Linked DNA regions of Homo sapiens: all the other regions are linked to region 1. Evidence: promoter capture Hi-C in 16 types of primary human blood cells and fetal thymus (Javierre and others, 2016). All regions are on one chromosome and are shown on one strand. Each heading gives the region's core, a stretch centred on a gene start or on the middle of the fragment in contact. The rest is flanking DNA. Distances are from core to core; before and after follow the strand shown.

Region 1 (2,969 bases), core at 349-2,848:
ACAACTAGACACTAACTTTATTGAGAACAGCGATATTCATTTCTTCAATTTCATTTGTGTTAACCCAACTGTAGGTGATAGTGCTCTGTACATCATAGTTACCCAGTGAATTACGTACCTGACATATGATTGCTTATTTCTGGTATTAAAACAAGATTTCATAAAATAAACATGACAATTAAACTCGTTGTTTGAAGTACTGAACTTTGTAGGTCAATCTTGAAAAAGGAAGCTACATGACTGTCTTAGCAATATTTATAGGTATATTATATGTAAGTGGGTGGGTTTCTTGGAAATTGAATTGGTAATATGGCTTTAGAGTAGTAACACAAAAACTATAGCTCTGTGCTCTCAGCTAACCACTTTTAGTGTCACCTGGGCTGCTTATTAAAAATTCAAATTTCTTATCCCTACCCAGATCAGAATCAAAATACCTGGGGGTTGTAGCTCCAGGTACCTACATTTCAACAAGCACCCCAGATAATTGTGATGCACACTGAAGAACTACTCTAGCTTGTAATCTCAGGTGGTAAGGCATTTTATATATACATATATATATACACACACACAAGCACAAATGGTAATTCTATGGGAAAATGGAAATCAGCAAGTGAAGTGAAATGTCAATTACCATCAGGAACAGGAAGCTAGTTCACCATTACGCATCAGGGAACTGGAAGAATTCTTGAGATTTATTTTTTTGGGTGATATATTCTTGGCAGTTTATCAGGCCTCATTTGCAATTATGGTCTGTCCCTTTTGAAGCCCTCAGATAGTTCGCTGGCATTTTAATTTTAATAGCAATTTCTTGCATCTGTTGGAACAGCATTCGTATGACCGGCTTATAAGCAATGATCAGGGCTAGTAAGATGTCACAAAGCTGCGGTGACTTTTCCTTATCAGTTGGGGGTTTTTTTGCCATGATACCATCGTGGAAATGAAAGACAACGTGAAAATCCTGCGTCCTTGTGATATTTCATCAGTGGGAGTGAGCGGGGATCTTAACGCAGTAAGAGGCAAGATAAACGGATGAGAGGCATTAGTTCAGGCTTACAGGAGCAAGATGCTTTTAGTCAAAGTGTTCAAGATAGCTCTCTTAAAGAGGAGCAGTGAAACCCAAAAATGAGTGTCTTTTGAGGGCAGCTGGAAGATGACCCGAGGGGAACTTTTATCCTGGGGTGGAGTCCTGCGAAGCAAGCCGCAGGTGAGGGCGTGGGCCAATTCTGCGCCTCACTGCTGTTAGGCGCAAGGACATCCCGAAACACACTCAACGACACCAGCAGCGAGACTGACAGAAGCGGATCGCCAGCGGGAGCAACAACTTGAGGCGAGCCGTTAGCCGCCTCGCCTTCCTCGCAGCGCCCCTCCCGCGCCCCGGGAAGCCCGTTCGGCTCCGCCTTTTCGACTGACGTCCCGGGCGAGCGGGGGCGGGCGCGTGGGTGGGCCGAGCCGTCTGCAGCCAGCGATTCGGCTGGCTCTGCCACACCACCGCGCGCCCCCGCTCCGCCCGCCCCTCCGGGCGCGTCTTTTCCGGGCTCGCGCTGAGTCCCGCCTCCGCCGGCTGTCCGGGTGCGCGCGCGCCGCTGCGGCTTTTTCTCTGGCCTCCGCCGCGCGCTCCTCCTCGTCCCAGCGCTAGCGGGCACGCGGTTCCTTTTTGCGAGCTTTCCGAGTGCCAGGCGCCGGCCGGCTGCGAAGACGCGGTGGGCCGCCCCTCCGGTGAGTATCCCTGGATGGGGAGGTTGCGGCCCCGGCACCCCTGCCCTGTCGGTACCAGGGCCCCATTTCCAGAGGGGGACTGGCGTACCTCACCTGAGCCGGGAGGAGGTTGGGTGGGCATTCCAGCTCCTGGAGTCGGCTCGCTTTTTTCCTTGAGCCAGGGCTATCTATCCGCTCGCCTCCGCTGGGGCCGGGAAGATTCCCGAGGTCACTGTATCTGCTCCTGTGATGGACTCTGGGGTCCTCGGAACCCCAGCCTGCCTCTTCCTGCCGCTCACCGCATCCCGAGGGCCAGAAGTCATCTTCCTGATCGGGGTACTAGGCTTTGCCACGGCCCTTTCCGGAGGAGACCATGAAGTGCTTGCTAGACCTCCAAACGACCTTTAGGGTGCCCCTAAACCTCAACTCCATTTTGTCCCCTCCCAGTCGCTCTGTAACTGAGGGCTAGGGAGCCTCTCTAGCCCTAGAGGCATCCGCCCTCTCGAATTTGAGGGATGCCGTCGCTTCCGATATCTTCCTTGCTTCCGATATCTTCCTAGCTTCCGTAGGCTTAGGTTTGTTAGAAAACAGCTGGATCCTGGCGAAGCGTGCTTTCCTTCCTTCCCCCACCCCCGTTCTTTCTGTCTACATCCCTGCCTTCAGTGGGTGCTATATATTTAGTATGAGCTTTATTCACTTCCTCTTCCTCTCGTTTGAGTGCCTGAAAGAACTGTGGCTGATGTCTATAGACATAGAAAAATCTAGGAGAATATGATTCATTGTCTAACCCCATCAAGGGGTTACATATTTTAAATAAGACGTCATTTCTCCTCTTCACTCCAGCATCTCCTCCTTCAAAGGCATTTTTCACCCTCTTGAAATTAATACGCTCTATTCGCTCTTTTCACCTAAAAAAAGGTCAATCGTCGCTCTGAGAAACAACAGTGAGATGCAAAATAAGGGTAAAATGGCATTGAAATGAATCCCTTTGAAAAAGTAAGCGGTTTGCTTTATCAGTTAATGGTCTCATCAGCGCTTCAGTTTCCTCTTCTGCAAAAATCAGTCTGTTGAACTAGAGCATATCAAAGGTTCCTTCTAGTGTTTTGATTCTAGGACCTCTAAATTCATGCAGGCTGCATAATGCAAATTTAACCTGATTAAAGCCTTATTTCTCATAGTCGCTTGTCACCTTAGTTTTTCTTTTATTTTGTCTCTAACAAGAAAGACTTTTAAATGTTCTTGATACGTAAGGCAGCAGGTGGAGATTCAATGAT
Region 2 (2,969 bases), core at 157-2,656, 700 kb before region 1:
AATCTCTCCACCTCCCTGAACCACAGGGTCCTCACCTATAAAATGCTTCTCCTAGAAGCGTCTGAGGATGCATGACATGGCAGCTGTGAAAGCTCTTTGCCAAAAGGCTGTGCAGAAGTGAGGTGTTGCTAATTTCAAGTGCTGGGACTTCACTCACTTGGAAACATTCAGGAAGCAGGGGTGGGGAAAGAGAGAGCAGGGACTTGCATATCCAGGACATATGGGGGCCTATATTTGTTGTCCTCCTGCTTAATAGCATTAGTGATTCAAGCTGGTGCTGCCTGTGGAACACTCTGTCTTTCGGGATCCTCAGGGACAGGAGGGGTTTCAGAGCAGCGAGGCTGCAGCCAGCACACAATACAGTGAAAAATAGAGTGATAGCAATGAGGTGCCACGCTCACAGGTTCATACACATGCATGTACACTCCTGACGGCCCCCAACGCTGCCTCACAACAGCAGCTGGGGCTAATTACAGCCAGACAGCGCCTTCTCCAGCTCTTCTCTCGAAGCTATCAACCCTCCCCACCACTACCACTACCACTCACCCTTGGGGATTGCCTGATCTCTCAGAAGGGGTGCTGCTGATGCCACAGCTAAATGCCTAGAAAGAACCCGGCAGGGGGTGTAGTGGTACAAGGGAGTAGGAAGCCGCCATGTGGCTCCCCGTCTTGCAAGTGTGGGTAGAGAGGAGGAGATGAAATGGAAGAGAGCTGGCTGAGATACAGATGCAGCTTTGTGTTAACAGATGTGCTCTCCTGGCAAGAGCGAGCCTAGGCACTTAGCCCCTCCCTTCTCCTTCATCTGGATCCACCCAGGGATCCCCTCTTAACTCTTCTCCCTCTTAAATCCCCAGCTTCCTCTTCAACTCAGCATCTGCCATAAAGCTCAAGAAATGTTGAATAAATGAATGGGTGAATAAACACATAAACCCTCCCCAAACCCTTAGTACTCCCAAACCCTGTTCCCACCTCACAGGCTGTAATGACTCCATGAGCCCTTTCCTCTGCTTTTCTTTCTATATACTCCCTTTGGACAGTGTCAACTCTCACCTAATATGCTTCTAACTCCCAAATCTCTCCTGGTAGCCCAGACCTTGCCAGCTGCCTGAATGTTTCCCCTGCTCCTCAAACCTAATGTGCCCCACACTAGAGTCTTCAGCAATGACTTCCCCAGGGGTTTTCTAGCAGTGAGTCCTGGTCTGTCAAGGGCGTATGAGAAAGAAGGGCCTGCTGTATGCGCCCCAGCAGGACAGGGGCAATGAACACATTGGCAAAGTCATCAGGGCAACCTTCTGATCCCAGGGTCTGTCTTCACACCAGGATACCAAGGTTTTTCCCATCAACCTTTTAACTGTCAGCCCTCCCTCCCACCCATAAGGAAAGCCAAATTAAGAATGAACTGCCAAATTGGAGCTAACTGCCTAATGTGGGCTTCTAATTGGAACCAGGCAAATTGTTTATATAAAGAAAAACCCTTGAAAAGGAGCCCATGTGAACTGGTGAGTTATTTCTTCTTCAACATGAGCTCTCTCTCCCAATCCCACTCTCATTGCTTCAGAATCCTGGTATTCCTCCCACCTTCATCCCTCAGCCAGCACACACACACACACACACACACACACACACAGCCTTCCCCTCATTTTCCTTCTCATGAACCTTCACTTCATGTTGGAGCCCTGTCCCCATGATCACTGCAAACCCCCAGGTAAATATTGAACCAAGATTGGTGAAAACTGGAGATATTATTCCACCAAAGCAGTGTTAGAGGGAAGGCCCCCAGAATGTTTACTGAGAGTTCACAAATTATTTCCTGATCTTGGCAAAGATAGAAAATAAAGCCCCCCTTTCCTCCAGGTCTTCCTAGATTTGGAGAGCAGCCAAAGGAATGGATTACAAACACAGTGGCCCTTGGTTCCTGACAGCCTCAGGGCCTATGAAGGCAAAATCCAAGTTTCTTCATTCCTTTTCTCAGGGAGTCCTGAGTATCATACACAAGTACAAATGCAAGGTGTCATTATAACCAGCCATGTTATGACCACATCTAGGGATTTTTAGTTTTTAACACAAGGTGAAAGATGTCTCACCAATTTCAGTTTGACATACAAGATGCAAAGTAATTTATTCAAAGCACTCCTGTGTTTAATTTCAAAACAGTCATTTATTCACTCAGCAAATCTATGTTGAGCATTTCAAAGAGCTGTAATTCATGGTTCCTGCTTTCAAACTCCTCCTTCTCTAGTTAGGAAATGAAAACCCTATATACAAGGGTTAACTGACAACACAAGACCATGCCAGCTTCCTTTTCATGCCTGGTGTGGACTATATGGCTCTCATAGTTTTGGCAGTACTGAAAATTTCCACTCTATTGCTTCTGTCACTACTGTTGACCTCTTCTCCAATACAAGGTGGTAAGTAGATGTGTCTCTAGGGTGCCTGGGTTCATATCTGTGTTCCGCCATTCACTAGCTATGTGACCTTGGCCAAGTTATTCAGCCTGTCTGAGTCTGGTGCCTCCTCTGTAATGTGAAGATAATAATAGTAACCTACCTCACAGCATCATAGTGAGAATTAAATGAGTTAATACACACAAAGCACTTAGAATGATACCTGACACATAATCATTGCTCAATAAATGTTAGTAATTATTATTTTCCTGATGTGCCTACTGTTCTTTGTTAATACCAGAGGTCACAATTCTTATTGGGCTTCCAAAAGAAGCGGTAAAGTACCACATTCATTCATCCACTCAATCAGCAAATATATGTTGAGCATCTACAAGTCCCTGAGTTAAGCCCTGGGATCATATAGCCAAAGAAGACATGGCCCTTGCCTTTGGGACTAAACAATTCACTGGAAGAACTCCTGGATTAATAGTGCCCTGATGCACTTGGAAGAACCAAACACAAATCCTCCCTGGAAGAACATGCCCACCACCCAGTTTTCATAGGATTACCAAGGATAAAGTCAGG
Region 3 (2,969 bases), core at 143-2,642, 680 kb before region 1:
CTCATGTCACTAAACTTTCCAAGTGAGAGCTTTTTCTTCTCTCATTCACTCTATTCATTCATTAATTCAGTCATTCAACAAACATAGATTTAACCATGGCTCTGGTGCTACGGCCCTGGGGAGTACAGAGATGACTAAGGCACAATCCCAGTTCTCAAGATGCTTCCAGTTTAATGGGGGAAACAGAGAAGACAGCAGGAAATTATAACACACTGGGATAAACATGAATGCTGTGAAAGCACAGAAGAGGAGCATTTAAAGTGGGCAGGAAAGGGTGTGGAGGATGGGGAGGCAGAGAATATATATATATATGCTTTCTTCTTTCTTCAGAAGAAAGCAAGGTGTCATCAGGTGGCCAAAAATAGTACTGTGTGACTGCATGGGCAAGTGGTAGTGGATGCAGTGAGAAAGGAAGGACAGGGCCAAATCATTAAGATCAAAGGTTTCTGTTTCATTCTGAAGACTGAGGGGAAGCTCTGGAAGGACTTTAAGCAGAGTAGTAGCACTGTCAGATGTGCATTTTAGAAAGATTGTCCCAGCAACAGAATGGAAGGTAGATTGTAGGGCATGAGATAGGTAACAGGGGACCCATTTATCAGCTTGTCACAATAATTCATCAAGATAAGGAAGGTCTAAACGAATGAGATGGCTTCTCCACATACAAATTGTGTCACGTTAGTGAGTGACTTAACCTGTCTGTGCCTCAGCTTCCTCCTCTGTAAAGCAAAAATAACAAGAGTATTGCCCTTGCAGGGCTGCTGGCAGGATTAAATGAAACACTGCATGCAAAGCACCTGGCACAGTGGCTGGTACCTAGAAGACACTCGATACATATCACTTCCCCTTTCCCCTCATCCTTTTTCCTCCACTTCACCCTTTCTTAAAGGCTGGCATGGTATGGAGCATGGAAGTGGCCAAAGCAGACTCTAACCCAGACAGTCTGACTCCAGAGGGCAGTGGAGAAAGTTTGCAAGTGCTATTGTCAGGACAGTTACTTAGAAGGATTGTTTAGCTGAGTTGAGGGCCCCGCTGAGGTTGGAAACTATGACTTTCTGGTGGGACTAACCAACAAAGTGATGGGATTTTCTCCAGCAATGTTCCTCCATCTGGGCATAAGCACAGAGGAGGAAACTGTCAGTTAAATTTATCCAGACTTAGGATTTTGCCTCATGGATGCAGCAGAAAGACACAGGGCAAGGGAATTGGGGATATACGCAAGATTCTGAAAGCAAACAGACCTGACTTCAAATCTCATCTCTGCTGTGGGACTTTGGGTAAGTCACTCAACCTCTCTGAGCCTCAGTCACCTCATTAAAAGGAAAACCACAATAGTATCTTCCTCATAAAGTTATTGTGAGGATAACATGAGATTACTGAAATGATGTCATAAGATGGGTAGTATATGCCTGGCACATACATATTAGTTGTTATTCTTATCATCATCATCATCATGTTCCAGGATGGAGAGGGAAGGTAGTAAGGTGAAAGGGGCTGATGGGATGGAAGAAATGGATGGAGGGGGCTCAAAAAACTGGAGAGCCTCCTGAGGTAAAAAGAAGAGCGTTGAGGCCAGCCAGCAAGGTGTAGATGGTAGGGGGTTCTGACTGATGATGAAGCATGGTAAGGCTAGGATGAGAGTGTGTCCTGTACATGGATCACGGATGTCCAACTCACCCAGAATGATGTCAGGACTTGGGGTGGAGAAGAAGACAATGAGCCAGATGTCGAACTCTTCGTTGAATGTGGGGGTGGGGGGGGGTTGACCAGGAGGGGATGGTTATAAAGAAGCGTCAACGAGGAGAGAAGTAGCCAGATGGCATGAGAAGGAGGAGTTCTTGGCTGAGGACGGAGGACTAACAGCCTGGAAGCAAACAGGGGAAGCTAGAGCACAGACCCCACCTCCCAGCCCTAGGGTGCCTGTAGTGTGGGAGTGTGGACAGTGTCCACTAGAGGGCGCTGGTGGCAAAGCCGTGAGATCCGCCGTGGAGACTCAGGTTTCAGCACTTCCAGGCCCGGAGGTAGACAATAGTGCTCTGTAAAATTTATCCAGGGTGTAGGGGGAATTGTTTACTGCAAGGTGGGGGCTTCCAGAGGGTACTGAGAAGAGTGAGAGAGGGCGGTAGTGGGGAGGTGGATGAGTCGGGGTGGCAGGGATGGGAGCACTGAGCAGTATGAGGATGGTATGGGAGAGGACAGATGACGAGCAGGGAGGCTTAACGTTTGGGCTGTGGCCAAGAACTGGGGGATGTGAAGCCTGGTGGGATTAACTGTCCTCGGAATTCCAAACGGAGCTTTTTTTTCCCTTTACATCTTTTGTTTATTATAAAAGTAGCACATGCTAGTTTCAAACAACTCTAATTATTGCTCAAGGGAAAATCTACCTCTCCTATTCTACTCCCCAGTGTTGACAGTCTGTCTATCCTTCCAGTCTTTTCCTGTATGTGTAACATATAATACCCTTAACAAAAATCAGATCCTACTATACTTACTCTTCTGCAACTTGCTTTTATCACAATACTATATTGGAGATATCATTGCACATCAGTATTTAAAGATCTAGCTTGTCTTTATTTGTGGCTACATCGTCATTGTCATCATTATACTAGTAGTTGGAATAGTAATGTGTAGCAATTATTAAATGCTCTGTGCCAGGTCCTATCTGAATATTTCATATGAATTATCTCATTTACTCTTCACAACTTCATGAATTGTTACTTTTCCCATTTTACAGATGAGAAACGGCACAGAGAGGTTAGAAACTTGGTCGAAGTCACACAGCTCATAAAAGCTAGAGGAGGAAGTCAAACCTAGGCAGTCTAACCAAGGCTCAAACTCTTAATCATTAGCATAGTAATGCTTAGTATGTCATTATTGGGATGTATTATAAATGATTTAACCAGTCCTTCACCGAGGTCATTTAGTTTTTTCAATTTGCTCCTATTTACAAATAATGTTTAAATGAACATCCT
Region 4 (2,969 bases), core at 196-2,695, 590 kb before region 1:
ATTTAACACACCTGTAACAAATAACTAGATTGAGTCAGTAATAATAAAAACTCCCTGTGAGGGAGAGGGGAGTGGAGATGGTTAATGGCTATAAAAATATAGATGGAATGAATAAGATCTGGTATTTGATAGCACAATAGTCAACAATAATTTATTGTACATTTAAAAATAACTAAGAGTATAATTGGAATGTTTGTAATGCAAAAAAATGACAAATGCTTCAGGTGATGCATATCCCATTTTCCTGATGAGATTATTGTACATCGTAAGCTAGTATCAAAATATCTCATGTACTCCATAAACACACTATGAATGCATAAAAAATTCAAACTAAAAAAATAAATGAATTTTAAAACTCCCAACAAAGAAAAGCCCAGGACCAGATAGCCTCACTGTTAAATTCTACCACACATTTAAAGAAGAATAAACACCAAATCCTTCTCAAGCTCTTCCAAAAAATAGAAGGAAACTGCCCAAATCATTTATGAGACCAGTATTTTCCTGATGCCAAAACTAGACAAAAACATCACAAGAAAAGAAAACTCAGACCACTGAATGTAGATGTACAATGAATACAGATGTAAAAATCCTCAAAAATACTAGTAAATGGATCCAGCAACATATAAAAAATAATTATATACCATGATGAAGTGGGATTCATCTCAGGACTGGAAGGTTGATTTACTATCCCAAAATTAATGTAAAGTATTAATTTTATGGTATATTAAAGTAATATGCCACATCAACAACATAAAGAACAAAAACCACATGATCCTGTCAATAGACACAGTAAAAGCATTTGACAAAAAATCCAACCTGTCATGATAAATTAAAAAAAAAAAAAAACACTCAACAAACTACCAGTAGAAGGGACCTTCCTCAACCTAAGGGAAGCTATTAAAAACTCACAGCTAACATCATACTTAATGCTAGAAGACAGAAAGCTTTCCCCATTATATCTGGAATAAGATAGGGATGTCTGCTCTCATCAATTCTATTCAACATTGTACTAGAGGTTTTAGGCAAAGCAATTAGACAAGAGAAAAAAAAATACATCCAGATTGGAAAGAAAGAAGTAAAACTATCAGATGACACAATCTTGTGTACACAAAATCTTAAGAAATCCAACAAAAAACTATTAGTAGTAAGAAATGAATTCAGCTCGGTTGCAAGATACAAGATCTAAATTATGCAATGAGGCCAGGTGTGGTGGCTCACGCCTGTAATCCCAGCACTTTGGGAGGCTAAAGTGGGCAGATCACTTGAGGTCAGGAGTTCGAGACCAGCCTGGCCAATATGGTGAAACCTCGACTCTACTAAAAATACATAAATTAGCTGGGCATTGTGGCGTGCACCTGTAGTCCCAGCTACTTGGGAGGTTGAGGCAGGAGAATTGCTTGAACCTGGGAGGCAGAGCTTGCAGTGAGCCAAGATCATGCCACTGCACTCCAGCCTGGAGTGAGACTCCATCTCAAAAAAAAAAAAAATACAATGAACAATCCAAAACTGAAATTAACAAAATTATTCCATCTTCAATAGCATCAAAAAGAATAAAATAGGAATAAATTTAACAAAAAAGTTTAAAATTGTAATCCCAACTTTGACTCTGAAGATGGGATTCTAAAATGGTACAGTCAATTTGGAAAACAGTCTGTAGTTTCTGAAAAGGTTAAGTACAGAGTTATAATATAACACAATAACTCCACCACTAGGTAAATGAGAGAAATGAAATGAAATGAGAGAAATGAAAACACACATCTACACACAAACTTGTAAACCAATTTTCTTTGCAACATTATTCATAACAACCAAAAAGTGCAAACACCCAAATGTCAATCAATTGATGAATGGATAAACAAAATGTGATATATCCATATAACAGTATGTTATTTGGCCATAAAAAGGAATGAAGTACTGGTAGATGCTACAACATAGAGGAAGCTTGAAAACATCATGTGAACTGAAATAAAGCAGACACAAAAAGGCAAATATTATATGATTCCATGTATATGAAATGCTCAGAATAGGTAAATCCATAGAGACAGAAAGGAGATTAGAGGTTGTCTAGGGCTGAAGAGGAATAGGAAGGAATGAAGAGTAACTGCTAATGGGTATGGGGTATCTTTTTTGGGGTGATGAAAGTGTCCAAAATTGATTATGTTGAAGGTTGCATAACTGCATGAATATTCTAAAAATCATCGAATTGTAAAATTTAAATGGGTGGATGGTATCCTTTGTGAATTATATCTCAATAAAAAGAAGAAAGAAAGAACAAACCAGAGAATTCTGGAGGAAACACAGAGCAGAGTGTAGCATGGGAAATTTCAAGCCCCTTAGAAAAGCTATATGCTACCATGAAGTATCTGCAATAGAAATAGCAGCTTGAGGTTTTAGAAGACCGTCAAGTGGCATGAAAGAAATCTAGAATCCCTTGTGGAATCTTGTGGAAGATGCAGAAGTCAGCTGAGGATTAAGCAGCAGCCTACTTACCAGGCAGTGGCTGTGGCATAAGGTGAACAGCCCCAAAGAAAAGGCTGTAGGGTGGATAGCCAACGTCAGGGGCCAGATGGAGGATCTGGCTGAAGTTTGGAGGGTTAGCTGCACTATTAGGAGCTAGGGTAGGAATCCCGAATAGTAAGTAATGAGAGACGACTGAGCTTCCTGACACAATCATTGTGTATTACTCATGCTGAGAGAATAAGCCATAAATTGTGAACATTTAAGCAGTGAATAGAGTGAGGCAAAATGAGCTACACTTCAAGTGGGATCTAGCAGAGGTTATAGGGATCAGATTTCTGCTCCTCGGTGCCATGAGTGAGTTTGTACTTTACATTGATTATTTGTACAAAAGAGACTTAATTCAGAACAGACTTTTATATTTTAATTGACAATGTTAATCCTCACCCTGCCAAAACTGTGCCTCCAACCAACTGGAATAGGTGCCCCAGAACACAATGAGATTAGTTAAA
Region 5 (2,969 bases), core at 219-2,718, 570 kb before region 1:
TTATTCTATGCAAGTACTGCTCTTAATATTATGACTGGTTCTAATATTTCATTTCAACAAGTAATACAGCTGTTCTGGGTAGAACACTATGCTAGACCCCTTTATGAGTATGGGTGAGAAATCTATAAAATAGGCATAAACCATGCTTCATGTCCTTAAAAAGCTTGCAGTCATACTGAAAAGACAAGATTCATGAAACAAATAATGAAGTCACATATGATTCAACAGCTAAATGAGTGATGGAGACAGTGATGTCTGTAGGACTCATTGTTTGGGTAGACTAATGTGGGCTAAGATTGTACAGGAGAGCTTTACAGACAAAATAGGATTTAGGCTAGGTAGAACTTTCATAGATGGAAAAAGCAGTCTAGGCAGAGAAACATCTTAGACATAGGTCAGGATGAGCATTATACAGTGGTCAGTGGGTACCAATCAAAAGTAGGTTGAAGTGGGGGAGAACCTAGCAAGAAAGGGGACCTGTAAGGAGACTAGCTATAACAAGCATTGGGAAATGAAGGTCTAACAGTTGACAATTTTAAAATTTTAATGGCCTGTGAGTGGCCTCTTTCTTGGTAAAATTTCTCTTTGTCTGTTTAATTATGTCTCACCAGCACCTTTAATGTTGTGAATGTCATGAAACCTTGACAAGAGACTAGGAAATAACACAAGCAGTAGTCTGCTCTGTAGACAAAGTGCTTTCATTCTTCAGTACGCATTCAGCTTAAGTCAGTTAGATTAACATTGGTTATGTCACACTGCCTGAGTGCCTTCTATGTTCAGTGATCTTTTTTCTTCTGAACTTCAGTGTCTCAAAGATGAAGTTAGAAAAATTGTCTAGCTACAAAGTTATGTAGTTTAAAAATACTATAATTATGATACAATTAAATGGTTTGGTCACTTTCTTTCCTCCTAAAGTTAATGAAGAAATTTTACTTGGATATTGCAAATTTAACTGAGATAATTTAGGTACTAGGGATTATAATAATTTTAGGAAGATTGTGAATGATGACAGTCTTCTTTATGAAATTAATTTAAACATAGATTAGGCTAATGGGAATGTTCCTTATGGTTCTTCACATGAGCTTTAAGAATGCTACAACTCTTAAGAAACAATCTATATAAGCAAACTTGTAAAGGTTTTATACTGTTATTTAGAAACAAAATTCTAAAATAGTTTCCTGAATTACAATGAGCAGCATATTTTTAGTTTATGTTGAGGAATGATTATGCTTTGAAGAAAAAAACAAGCAAAATTCTCAGTATTTTAGCTGAAGATGTGTCTTTAAGACATAAGTTTAGAACTTAAACTTCTTTTTCAGTGATCACTGTAAAATTCTATTTTAGTAACTCCCTTCTGTTATTCCCAGAATATGTTTTAGAATATAAGAAAATTATTTTCCAAATATGGGACTAATCTCTGGCAGATTGTAAAGCATGAGCATTGTATCAGTATACTCAGGAAACAGAAAACAACACTAGCGTAATGCTCACTAACAGTGTTCTCTATGTAGTCAGTTTATGTCTATAAGTAAATGAACTCTCCCTCCTATCATAGTCGAATCTGCAATTTGAATTATATACTATTAGAGTGAGGAGAAAAAATACCAGATGTTAAAATAGTGGTAGTACAATATTTTTGAATAAAAGTTGTTGAAGAGGTAGATGTTGACCCTATGTAATAATCATAGACTCCTGCCACATAATGGGATAGGAGGCCAAATGGAATCCAGTGGTTTTTAGTACAGACCACACAGAGGTTCCTGATCACTTTTAATATCCGTAAATCTTTCTTAACAAAGGTGGATGCCCTCATCAGGGGAGTGGGAGGCAATTTTGTTTATACAGGGTTGAACTATTTAGATTTCAACTTCATTTTTCACAGACTTCAAACAACGTGCATCTCAAATAGGCAGGCACCTCCATAGTGTAGAGCACAACTGGGGGAAAAAGTCAGGGCTTTTCTGTTTTGATTGTGGCAAGAGAACAAGCAAACCCATTTTAAAGTGAAAAAAATGGATGTAGGTCTAACGGGCCCTGATTCCTGTCTCCATTGGGCTACACATAGAACCTTTGCTTCTGTTTATTTCCGCTCAGTCTAGAGAAATTCAGATAAGTTCTTACAGAAGAGGAGTGCTTTAGTCTTTAAGGTTTCTTTCACTTTCATTAAGTTATATTCACCATCTCATAATAACCCTTCATTAACTCTTAACTAATTTAAATAGTTTGTACCAGTCCAGCACGGCCTCAGGTCCATTCATTTTCTCAGAATTGTTATATTTAAACACTTTTTACTTCAATCTCTCCCACCCCAAATTTGAAGTATAAATTTAGGAAAATCAGTCAATCTCTCTCTCTCTTTTTTTTTTGTTTTTTGATTTGTTTATTTATTTTTTTGGAGACCAAGTCTTGCTCTGTCGCCTAGACTGGAGTGCAATGGCGTGATCTCGGCTCACTGCAACCTCTGCCTTCTGGGTTCAAGCAATTCTCCTGCCTCAGCCTCCCAAGTAGCTGGGGATTACAGGTGACTGCTACCACGCCTGGCTAATTTTTGTATTTTTAGTAGAGATGGGGTTTCACCATGTTGGACAGGCTGGTCTTGAACTCTTGACCTCAGGTGATCCACCCACTTCGGCCTCCCAAAGTGCTGGGATTACAGTCGTGAGTCACCGCGCCTGGCCTAGGAAAATTCTCCTCTTACCCCTTCTTCAATATAGTTTCTCTCTGGAGCTTTGCCATTTTCAAGAGCAGTAATCTTGAATATTTGAAAGCTTGGTAGCACCTTCATTATAGAATTTTTACTGTGTAAATTCTAGCAATGTTTATCACTAGCAAAGTTCTTTACTGGTCCTGCTGGTTTTCCATTTTTGGGAGATGGTAGAATGATGGGAATGGGGAGGTGTAAATTTATGACTTCCAAGTTTTTTTTTCAATCATTGGATTTGAGTGTCTACAGCAGTGTATAAACACTG
Region 6 (2,969 bases), core at 308-2,807, 530 kb before region 1:
ACAGTTAGCCATAATGGTTAAGGCTCTATAGTTAAGATTGCCCAGGTTTGAGTGCCTGCTTCATTATGTATCAACTGTGAGACTCCCTCATCTGTAAATAGGAATGTTAGTATCAGCCTCCTAGAATTGTTGATGAAGACTAACATAATTAGTTTGTTTAAAACATTTATTGAGATAGCAAACATATAGGATACACTCAATATAATGTAGTAGTAGTATAATATAACTTTTGCTAAATGTAGTCCTATTGGGCTGGCCTGTGAGCCCCTTGAAGGCCTGTCTTTTGGTCTTTATATCTCAGGCACCTAACCTAGCAGACAGTCAATACTCAATAAATACTTGCTTGAATTGAATTGATTTATTTACCCTATTTTTATCTTCCATTACAGCCCACTGTTTGTAACATGGAAGATTGGTCGAGACAAAAGATTACGTGGATGCATAGGTACTTTTTCTGCCATGAATTTGCATTCAGGACTCAGGGAGTACACACTTACCAGGTGAAGACCAATTTTTGTTACCTCTGCTTTTACATTAAAAAAAAAAACTTATGAAACTTGAATCTGATACTTTAACTCCTTTTACTGAATTGTCAACGTTCTTGTCTTCCTTCATGTCAGGTTTTTCCTTTGTCTTTAACCATTTACCTTTTCTCTGGTAAAATGTTATTGATATATATTACCATAATATAAAATACTGTGATTAATGTATTCTGCCATCGATGTTTTGAAGTGTTTTTTTTTTCTTCCAGTGGCCAGCTTATTTTGTATAACTTGAAAACCAATGACCAAATGTCCACGGGTTACCAAAATATGTGATTTCTATAGTAACAGTCATTATTTCTTCCCTCTTGTGTTTTTTAAAAATAGTTGTTGTCTCTTTCATCTTACACATTTTGTTACACTTTTAAGGACTTTTGAAATTGAAAGGAGAGCCTAGGAAGAAAGTGATGCCACAGCCTAGCAGTATAATCATTCACATTCACACTTCACCCAGAATTAATTGTAGCTTGCTTATTTTCTTTTATCTAATAAAAGGACAAAGTAATTCCTCATTACAGTTGTTTAAAACTTTGTTCTTAATTTCTGAATTCACAAAAAGCTATCTAGCACACAATGTGAATTTTTTGGTTCAAGTTTAGATTTCAAGCAAATTGTGACCCAAAATTATTTCAAAAGAAGAAAATTCCTTAAATAATAAGCTATTAGTAAAGGAATTTCCTGTTTTTGTTCACATTTTAGGGTGATTATCTGATACAGTTTCTATAGTTGTAATATGCACAGTGTCTGTCCAACAAGAAATTGCTCCCTGCTGACTATTGGTACTTGGGGCATGTTTCTCAACCTCCATAGGTAAAATAGTAATTACAGTATTTTGTTCTATATACTTAATAGAGGTGTTAGGAGAATGAAGTAATAATCACTATTTTACTTCAGGATTAATGTGGAACATTATTTTACTGTAGAACTGCATAAATGCAGGCTCATAGCACCAGTTAATAAAATACTGTAACTGAGTTTGGTATTCTCATATTTGAAGGTATGCAGTAGCTCACAGCTGCAGGGTTTTCTCAGCTTACAGTGAAGCCCAGAAAAAAAACCAATGGCTTGGGGGATCATATTCATTTTTTAGCTTTTCACAGGTATAAGAAACTGGGTGTTTGGATTTGATTAAATAACATACAGGCTGTAAGGGTTGAAACACATATTCTGGAAATAAATTCAACTTGTTAAAGATAATATAAGTACTAGTCTAGGCATGTTAGATTTTTTTTTTCTGACATAAAATACAATGGGCTCATTTTTGGGACTTCAGCAAATTCTGCCAATGGCTACCTTTTTGGGACAGGTACATATTAAATTACACATTTAATACTAATCAATGGCAATTTATTGTACATTTCCCAAAATAAGTTGTTATGAGGAACACTGGTTCCTTTGCGCTACCTGAAGAAAAGAATTCTGTGACCAAATAAGTTTGGGAAACACTGGTTAAAAAATGTAAACAACTCTGCTCACTGTAGGACTTCTCAGAACCTTTTATGTTAATAGTGTTATGTATATCTAAGAGAGAGAAATAGAATGTAGCATTTTCCAGGCTTATTTGACTACAGGACCCTTTTATCCTCCCACCCCAAAGTCTGAGTGTTCCAAGGAAAACATTTTTGGAAACACAAGTCTGTTTTCAAAACAGAATATTACTTTATATTTGGGTAGTAAGAGTTGGTATTATAGAAACCCTTTGTGCTTTCTAGTGAAATTGTAGCAGAAATCCCATTATCAAACATTATATACCTTAGAAATCTTTCGTAGTGGTCATTGTGGTAGCAATTGGGTTTTGTTTAAAGAAAAAAATAAATTCTTTTGCCAATGTTGGCAAGGGGTGAAAACATCCAACTTTTCTGGACTTGTCCATTTATATCCTAGGGTAATGACCAGAAGAATTACAGTATAATTTTCTGACAATAATGTGATTCTGAATGAATTGTTCAAATACTTGAAGTTGGAAATTTGCCTACATTTGTATACCTTGTTACCCTCATTGCAATCTATAGCTCTTCCTGTTTACTTTTCATCTTTTTTCTCATGTTTCTATACAGCTTCCTCAAATTGTATATATCACATTAAAGAGGCGTGTGTGTGTGCGTGTGTATACATATGTTTGTGTGTGTATACACACATGCACATACCTGGTTTTACTTCTCATTTTTGTTTGGCTTAATTTCTTTTGTATAACAAGATATTAACAATCATACTATTTGGAAAAGATGAACAAAAGAAAACAAGTCTTACAAAATACAATTAATCTTTTTTCCTGGATTCATTTTAGCATCAAAAGTTGTAAGGAGTCATTTTTAAAAGTTGGAATATAATATTTTTCTGTTCAGTAGTGTGCTTATCATTTTTACGTATTATGTTATTATGATTATTTTTGTTAATGGCTGCCATTTATTAAGAATTTACTATGTC

What was found. Contacts are between HindIII fragments. The CHiCAGO score rates a contact against its expected background, and 5 or more counts as called.
Region 2: a fragment that was not itself captured here is called in contact with the fragment with the promoter of ACSL4 in region 1 in 1 of 17 cell types (naive B cells); the score reaches 5.2 in naive B cells.
Region 3: a fragment that was not itself captured here is called in contact with the fragment with the promoter of ACSL4 in region 1 in 2 of 17 cell types (non-activated CD4 T cells and total B cells); the score reaches 7.3 in non-activated CD4 T cells.
Region 4: a fragment that was not itself captured here is called in contact with the fragment with the promoter of ACSL4 in region 1 in 12 of 17 cell types (total B cells, non-activated CD4 T cells, naive CD8 T cells and 9 more); the score reaches 27.8 in total B cells.
Region 5: a contact is called between a fragment that was not itself captured here and the fragment with the promoter of ACSL4 in region 1, in 2 of 17 cell types (activated CD4 T cells and total B cells). The highest score is 8.0, in activated CD4 T cells.
Region 6: a fragment that was not itself captured here is called in contact with the fragment with the promoter of ACSL4 in region 1 in 2 of 17 cell types (activated CD4 T cells and total B cells); the score reaches 6.1 in activated CD4 T cells.

The regions. Positions count from the first base shown.
Region 1 is chrX:109,731,886-109,734,854 of GRCh38, reverse strand. ACSL4 (acyl-CoA synthetase long chain family member 4) reads left to right here and starts at 1,598. Exons shown (of 16, transcript NM_001318510.2): 1 at 1,598-1,716. It overlaps LOC105373311 (a long non-coding RNA gene), which reads right to left and starts at 2,344. Exons shown (of 1, transcript NR_158569.1): 1 at 1-2,344. RefSeq lists silencers at 1,336-1,645, 1,743-1,863 and enhancers at 1,986-2,125, 2,186-2,235. The HindIII fragment of the contact is 5,191 bases long and covers 1-2,969 here.
Region 2 is chrX:110,429,982-110,432,950 of GRCh38, reverse strand. All of the region lies in intron 1 of RTL9 (retrotransposon Gag like 9), which reads right to left. It also overlaps a transcript of AMMECR1 not described here. Among named protein-coding and RNA genes, the nearest start is that of RTL9, 73 kb to the right of the region's middle. The HindIII fragment of the contact is 4,673 bases long and covers 1-2,969 here.
Region 3 is chrX:110,412,305-110,415,273 of GRCh38, reverse strand. The region is part of intron 1 of RTL9 (retrotransposon Gag like 9); the gene reads right to left. It also overlaps a transcript of AMMECR1 not described here. Among named protein-coding and RNA genes, the nearest start is that of RTL9, 55 kb to the right of the region's middle. The HindIII fragment of the contact is 6,094 bases long and covers 1-2,969 here.
Region 4 is chrX:110,322,526-110,325,494 of GRCh38, reverse strand. The region is part of intron 1 of LOC105373312 (a long non-coding RNA gene); the gene reads right to left. It also overlaps a transcript of AMMECR1 not described here. Among named protein-coding and RNA genes, the nearest start is that of AMMECR1, 5.9 kb to the right of the region's middle. The HindIII fragment of the contact is 997 bases long and covers 947-1,943 here.
Region 5 is chrX:110,302,300-110,305,268 of GRCh38, reverse strand. All of the region lies in intron 1 of AMMECR1 (AMMECR nuclear protein 1), which reads left to right. Among named protein-coding and RNA genes, the nearest start is that of AMMECR1, 14 kb to the left of the region's middle. The HindIII fragment of the contact is 2,605 bases long and covers 166-2,770 here.
Region 6 is chrX:110,262,020-110,264,988 of GRCh38, reverse strand. AMMECR1 (AMMECR nuclear protein 1) reads left to right here. Exons shown (of 6, transcript NM_015365.3): 2 at 390-500. Among named protein-coding and RNA genes, the nearest start is that of SNORD96B, 38 kb to the right of the region's middle. The HindIII fragment of the contact is 3,693 bases long and covers 1-2,969 here.